Linked DNA regions of Homo sapiens: region 1 is linked to region 2. Evidence: promoter capture Hi-C in human tissues and cell types (Jung and others, 2019). All regions are on one chromosome and are shown on one strand. Each heading gives the region's core, a stretch centred on a gene start or on the middle of the fragment in contact. The rest is flanking DNA. Distances are from core to core; before and after follow the strand shown.

Region 1 (3,364 bases), core at 51-2,550, 280 kb after region 2:
TGTCACCCAGGCTGGAGTGCAGTGGCCTGATCTGGGCTCACTGCAACATCCACCTCCCGGGTTCAAGTAATTCTCCTGCCTCAGCCTCCTGAGTAGCTGGGATTACAGGCGCACACCGCCACGTCCGGCTATTTTTTGTATTTTAGTAGACACGTGGTTTCACTGTGTTGCCCAGGCTGGTCTCAAACTCCTGAGCTCAGGCAATCCGCCCACCTCGGCCTCCCAAAGTGCTGGGATTATAGGCGTGGGGTCTTGAACTCCTGAGCTCAAGTACAGGCAGGCGTGAGCCACCACGCTGGGCCCTTTGTTTTTGAGACAGGTTCTCGCTCTGTCTCCTAGGATGGAGTGCAGTGGTGCAATCCGGCTCACTGCAGCCTCGGCTCAAGCGATTCTCCTGCCTTAGCCTCCCGAATAGCTGAGACCACAGGCGCGGGCCACCAGGCCCAACTAATTTTTTAAATTTTCTTTTGTAGAGACGGGGGTCTCCCTAGGTTGCCCAGGCTGGTCTCCAACTCCTGGTCTCATGCCATCCTCCGGCCTCGGGCCTCCTAAAGTGTTGTGATTACAAGCGTAAGCCACCGCGCCCGGCCAATTCGGAGTCTTAAAACAAAAACAAAAACAAAAAAGTTCCTCGCGCCCACACGATTTTTACAGTAGGCCTCTAACATGGGTAGAGAGGGGAGCTATTAAAGTTGGGGAAACCGAGGCTCAAAGCCAGAGGGACCTTCATCAATCTAGACACAAGGTCTAGGAGGTCTCTTTCAGTTGATGCTATTAGAAGCTGCTTTGGGCGGAACTGGCAACACCAGCGACCCGGCCGGGACTATCGCCAGCAGACGGAAACGACTGAGGGCCTCTGAGGCTCGGAGGCGGCTAAGCGCGAGAGCCGGACGGAACGAAGGCGCCTGGCTTTGGCTGGAGCGAAAACCAGGTCTGGATTTCGCAAGAGCCCGACCCTGGAGCCAAAGCTCCACTATGATTAGAGGAGACAGAACAGCGAACGGATTTCCAAACGGAGCGAGTGGGAAGGGAAATCCTGGAGCGGAATATTCACGGGGCCTTGGAACGGAGCCGGTGCGCAGCTGCGGCTCACTGAGCTGTCTGGGTTTATTCCGGGGCAGACCGTTGGCACCAACGGGCGCAAGCGCGTCTGCGGCGGCGGGGTTCAAGAGTGGGCGGTGTCGGGAGCGCCCGGGCGCACGCGCACTGCACCGCCCAGGCGTGCACCCCGCCCCCCGCACCTGCGCACCAACACAGCCGCGGGAGGGCGGGGCCTCCTGCGTCGTCCTGCGCTAGGGGGATTGTGGGATAGTGGCGGAGGGAGCCGGGCGTCGGAGGCCCTGAGGCCGGCCGCAGAGCCCGGAGATTGAGCGGCTTTGGGGAAGGGGTGGTTAAGGAAGTAGGCCTCGGCTTCCGTCGGTCGCTGCTCGGCTCTGCGGCCCGTTTGGACCGCGGAGGAGGTCGCCTTCCCCTCCCGTGGGGCGCTCGGTTGGACTGTGGAAACCGGGGCAACTTCCCCCGTCTTCCCGGCTGAGGCGCCTGCGTGGGCCTCGCGACCCGGCTCGCCAACCCGCCTCGGCCCGCACGCCCACCTCGCCTGCGGACCCCGGAGGTGCCTACGCGGACTAGTGACGCCCCCCGCCCGTCGGCAACTCCACCCGGCGCTGACCCCCTCAACTCTGCAGGACCCGGCGCGCGAGGACCCCACGACCCGCGGGCGCCTGCGCGGACCCCGCGAGCCCCGGCGCCTGCGCGAGTCCCCGACGCCGCCCCCGCCCCCACTCACCGGGCCCCGCAGCAGGGGCCGGAGCCGCCGGCGGCGGGGCGGGGGGGGGCGCCCCGATGAGCCCCGAGTGCGAGGAGCCGCCGCCCCCCCTCGCAGGTGAGCGGCCCGCGTCGCCCGACCCTCTCTCTCCAGGGCCAGGCGCCCACGTCTTCCCCTCTCCGCGTCCCCTCAGGCTTTTCCCTCTCGGGACCCCCGCGGGTCTTTTCTGCTTCGGATCCTTTCCCTCCTTCCTTCGGGTTTCCTCTCCACGGCACCCCGTTTCTTCCCCCTCGACCCTCCCCAGTCTCTTAATCTCTTCACCTCAGCTCCGCCGCCACCCTAGTCTCAGTCTCTTGCTCTCGGCCTTTTCCCACTCGCTCTCTGCAGCTGCGCTCCCCAGTCCCTGAGCCTCAGCTCCGCTCTCTTGCCTCTCTGGCCGGTTCCCCGGCCCCCCAGGAGTCTTTCTCCCTGGTTACCCTGGACTTTGCCTGCTTACACCCTTCCCTCTCGCCCCGATCTCTGCCCCGCCACCTCTTCCGTGGCGCAGCCTCCTTAGATCCCCGGAGCTCAGGACTGGAGGAGCGGGGCTTGTTTTCACCTTGACCGACCCTCTCCCGCCTCCGGCTTCTTGTGCGAGGGACCTGGGAGCGGGGCTTCTCTGGAGCAGCCACCACTCGGGCCTGCTTCAGTGAGATGAAGCCTGCTGAGGGCAGGCAGGGAGCCTGGCGCTGGGCACCGAGGAGGGGGCATCAGCCCTAGGCCCTGCCCTGGAGGTGGGGCCGGTCCCTGGAGGGGGTACAAAGGCAGAGCCGGACAGTCACAATTCCTGCGTGTCGTGATCGAGGTGACTTAGGGAGCTGCAGGGGGCCACAGAGCGGGAGGCACTGGTGAGACTGACTGGACGGACGGCTTTTTCTGTCTAGGAAGGATGAGTAGGAGGTGACAGATGGAGAGTGGGAAGAAGGGCCTTCCGGGGGGGGAAGGAGCAGCACGTGCAGATATGTCAAGGAAGGAAGGTCGGAGTCCTGAGTGCAGATGTATTGGGAGGGTGAGGGGCAGAGTAGTTCCGCCCGGCGTGCTTATCCAGGCCTCGAATGGGACCTCTGGTTGGGGTCTTTCTTGCTCGCTCGTAGTACACACAGACATGACCATAGACACCCGCCTGAAAGGCAAGATGTTTCAGGAAAGGAAGCTGCGTAGACTGTCAGGTGCGGTACTGGGTTCACAGTTGTAGAGAAACTGCAGTGGGATTTCATCCAGCCCAAGGGCGAGGGTCTAACTGTTAGCGTGCGCTGCAAATGCAGCAAGGACTCGAGATTGCCTGGATAACACAGGATGAGGACTTGGTTTACATACATGCACAACACACATGGAGACACGGCGCCCGGCCACGTGTGCTTACTAGTGGTGGGATGGCTGTTGGAGCTGCTTGTGCTGTTGAAAATGTTATGCTTTTTTTTTTTTTTTTTTTTTAACTCTAGTTCTGGGATTGGGATCATGAGAAGGCAGTCCAGCTAATTGTTAGAGGATCTTTTGCCAGACAGACCTAGGCCGAGTCCGGCTTCTGCCAAGCGAGACCTTGGACAAGTTGTTCCTCGT
Region 2 (3,750 bases), core at 942-3,441:
TGAAATAACAGTCTGGTGTTGGCCCAACTGTGAGCCTCGTAGTTTTGACAAATGTCTCACGGTTTGCATCGCGATGCCGACACCAGGGGAGGCTGGGGGAGGGTGCATGGGAACTCTCCGCAGGATCTTGGCAACCATTTTATAAACCTAAAATGATTCCAAAATAAAAAGTTTATTTAAAAAAATGAAGTGACTTCACATCAGTCATGGCAGTATAAACCTGAAGGGTGGGCCAGACACGGTGGCTTATGGCTGTAATCCCAGCACTTTGGGAGGCTGAGGCGGGTGGATCACCTGAGGTCAGGAGTTCGAGGCCAGCCTGACCAACATGGTAAAACCCTGTCTCTACTAAAAATATAAGAATTATCCAGGAGTGGTGGCAGGCACCTGTAGTCCCAGCTACTCTGGAGGCCAAGGCATGAGAATCGCTTGAACCTGGGAGGTGGAGATTGCAGTGAGCTGAGATTGGGCCACTGCACTCAGCCTGGGCAACAGAGCAAGACCCTGTCTCAAAAAAATAAAAATAGCCCAGGCACAGTGGCTCACCTCTGTAATCCCAGCACTTTGGGAGGCTGAGGCGGGTGGATCACCAGGTCAGGAGATCAAGACCATCCTGGCCAACATGGTGAAACCCTGTCTCTACTAAAACATACAAAAATTAGCCAGGCGTGGTGGCAAATGCCCGTAATTCCAGCTACTCGGGAGGCTGAGGCAAGAGAATCACTCGAACCAGAGAGTTGGAGGTTGCAGTGAGCCGAGATCACGTCACTGCACTCCAGTCTGGGTGACAGAGCGAGATTCCGTCTCAAAAAGCAAAAAAAAAAAAAAAAAAAAGAAATAAAAAACCCTGAAGGGTGGGTGCAACCGTCCCAGAAAAAAACAGGGGTCTGAAGTCCCACTGTGGCCCAAGGCTTGGGGACTTCCTAGTGGGGCTTAATCTCCCTGTGCTTACAGCAGGGAGGCACTCACTGGCCTGTATTCCTGTTATGCGCTTTCAAACTATTTTTATTGTTATTCCTCTCTTTGGAATCAGGAGCCCTCAGGCCCTCCTCCCTCAGACCCAGGAGTCCAGGTCCTCAACCCCCTCCTCCCTCAGGCCCAGGAGTCCAGGTCCTCAACCCCCTCCACCCTCAGGCCCAGGAGTCCGGGTCCTCAACCCCCTCCTCCCTCAGACCTAGGAGTCCAGGTCCTCAACCCCCTCCTCCATCAGGCCCAGGAGTCCGGGTCCCGTGTAGAAAATGAAATCATTTCTGGAACCCACCCCTGCCTTGACCCCACCCAGCTGCCCCATCAATGCCCCATTGACAGGTCAGACACAAGTGCTTGGAGAGGGGTGTCCAGGGGATCAGATGCTGGGGTCTAGTTTGGGGAAAGAATGAGACAATGAGATTCCAGAACGATGCAGTGTGGGATGACCTCAGACTCAGAGGGGCGGGAAGCAGGTGCTGGAGCAACTGGGAAGAGAGGCCTTGAGGGGGTGGGGAGGCCTCAGTTCTGCCGGAAAACTTCAGATGGGTGGGGGAGGCTGAGGCCTGGACTCCTGGGTCTGAGGGAGGAGGGACTGGGGCCTGGACTCCTGGGTCTGAGGGAGGAGGGGCTGGGGCCTGGACTCCTGGGTCTGAGGGAGGAGGGGCTGGGGGTCTGGACTCCTAGGTCTGAGGGAGGAGGGGCTGGAGACCTGAATTCCTGGGTCTGAGGGAGGAGGGGCTGGAGACCTAGACTCCTGGGTCTGAGGGAGGAGGGGCTGGGGTCTAGACTCCTGGGTCTGAGGGAGGAGGCACTGGGGGACTGGATTCCTGGGTCTGAGGGAGGGAAAGCTGGGGGCCTGGATTCCTGGGTCTGAGGGAAGAAGAGCTGGGGGCCTGGACTCCTGGGTCTGAGGGAGGAGGGGCTGGGGCCTGGACTCCTGGGTCTGAGGGAGGAGGCACTGGGAGACTGGATTCCTGGGTCTGAGGGAGGAGGCGCTGGGGGCCTGGACTCCTGAGTCTGAGGGAGGAGGAGGGGCTGGGGCCTGGACTCCTGGGTCTGAAGGAGGAGGGCTCAACTCTTGGGTCAGGGTATTCACCTGACCACAGCCAGTTCCAGGAGTCATCACACGATGTCGCTCTGCTCCCAGTGGGGGCAGAAGGGGCGGGCCCAGGGGCGGGGCCTTACGACCCCCAAAGTCGGGGCGGGGTCTTGCTCCTAGGCAGGCCTCTGCTGGCATGAGCCCTAAGTGCCGGGCACTGACCACAGCCGGCGGCCGGAGGGTCAGGAGGGCCTTGGAGGAGGTGAGGTCTGGAGGTCTGAGCCCAGGTTGGGAGGTGGGCAAGGTGCCCTGGCCTGAGGTGGGCAGCACCTGAGGGTGACTGTACCAGGTGGCCCGAGTCCTCGGTCCCTCAGGGGAGCCTGGGCTGCACCTGGAGGCTGTAGAGCGGTGGAGGGTGAGGGAAACAGAATCAGGGGGTCCCCAGTTGTGTGAATTGTATGAGGTTCCGGGAGAGAGGTGGGCTGGGGGCCTGGACCCCTGGGCCTGGCGGAGGAGGGGCTGGGGGGCTGGGTCGGAGGGAGGTGGGTGGGCTGTGAAAGTGGGACCCCAGGCCTGTCAGGAGCTTGGGGACTGATCCCAAGTGCTCGGTCCCATGCAGGACCCAGGCGTCCCAGGCCCTCTGCACAGCCCGCCCTCCCAGCCCTGAGCCCAAGAGCACCTGTTTGTTCTCAGGAGACAGAGTCTACTCATCCACCCCCAGGGCCCAAGTCTGTTTGCTTTGGAAACAAGATGGGGGAGTCTCAGTTATCTGGTTCATCTTTCAACCTCAGGGTGGGCGGGTGGCGGCGGCGGCACGCGGGCAGGGACATCTGTGACCTGGGGCTTGAACTCACACCAGACTTGTCTCCCCACCTCTCACCAAGAGGGAGACTGAGTCACAATGAGAAGCGCGATGAGCCCCCAGCCCCTCCTCCCTCAGACCCAGGAGTCCAGACCCCCAGTCCCCTCCTCCCTTGGGCCTGGGACCTGAGCCTGGGCACCCCTCTCTGTTCTCGCAGAGATGCCCGGCAAACAGTCTGAGGAAGGGCCGGCGGAGGCAGGGGCTTCGGAGGACAGCGAGGAGGAGGGTCTGGGCGGCCTGACATTAGAGGAGCTCCAGCAGGGCCAGGAGGCTGCCCGCGCGCTGGAGGACATGATGACGCTGAGTGCTCAGACCCTGGTCCGAGCCGAGGTGGACGAGCTCTACGAGGAAGTGCGTCCCCTGGGCCAGGGTTGCTATGGCCGCGTCCTTCTGGTCACCCATCGTCAGAAAGGTACGAGGCTGTGGGGCCAGAGGTGGCAGGGTTCAGCTGGGGGCGGGGCACGGGCCTGGGGTAGCCCAGGCTGGGGAGGCTGGCAGGCCTGAATCAAGTCTTACCTCTGCCCTCCAAAGCTGTGTGTTTTTTGTTTTTTGTTCTTTTGGTTGGTTGGTTGTTTTTGAGACAGTCTGGCTCTGCCGCCCAGGCTGGAGTGCAGTGGCACAATCTCACTGCAACTTCCACCTCCCAGGTTCAAGTGTTCCTCCTGCCTCAGCCTCCCATGTAGCTAGGACTATAGGCATGCACTACCACACCCAGCTACATTTGTGTGTGTGTGTATTTTTCTTTCTTAGTAGAGATGAGGTTTCACTCTGTTGGCCAGGGTGGTCTCGTACTCCTGGCCTCCAGTGATCCGCCTGCCTCAGCCTCCCAATTGCTGGGATTACAGGCATGAGCCACGGTGCCCTGCCAAAAACTGTGTTT

What was found. The method cuts DNA at HindIII sites, captures the fragments that hold promoters and counts their contacts. A contact is called where the count stands out against the background at its distance.
Region 1: the fragment with the promoter of PPP6R1 here is called in contact with the fragment with the promoter of SBK2 in region 2 in 2 of the 25 tissues and cell types used here (adrenal gland and aorta).

Annotation. Positions count from the first base shown.
Region 1 is chr19:55,256,953-55,260,316 of GRCh38, reverse strand. PPP6R1 (protein phosphatase 6 regulatory subunit 1) reads left to right here and starts at 1,300. Exons shown (of 24, transcript NM_014931.4): 1 at 1,300-1,882. RefSeq lists enhancers at 663-712, 793-842, 873-1,072, 1,078-2,052 and silencers at 902-1,196, 1,103-1,382, 1,513-1,612, 1,783-1,842, 3,027-3,220. The HindIII fragment of the contact is 34,304 bases long and covers 1-3,364 here.
Region 2 is chr19:55,535,574-55,539,323 of GRCh38, reverse strand. SBK2 (SH3 domain binding kinase family member 2) reads left to right here and starts at 2,191. Exons shown (of 4, transcript NM_001370096.2): 1 at 2,191-2,270; 2 at 3,028-3,282. The coding sequence starts at 3,030. RefSeq lists a silencer at 1,288-1,582. The HindIII fragment of the contact is 44,152 bases long and covers 1-3,750 here.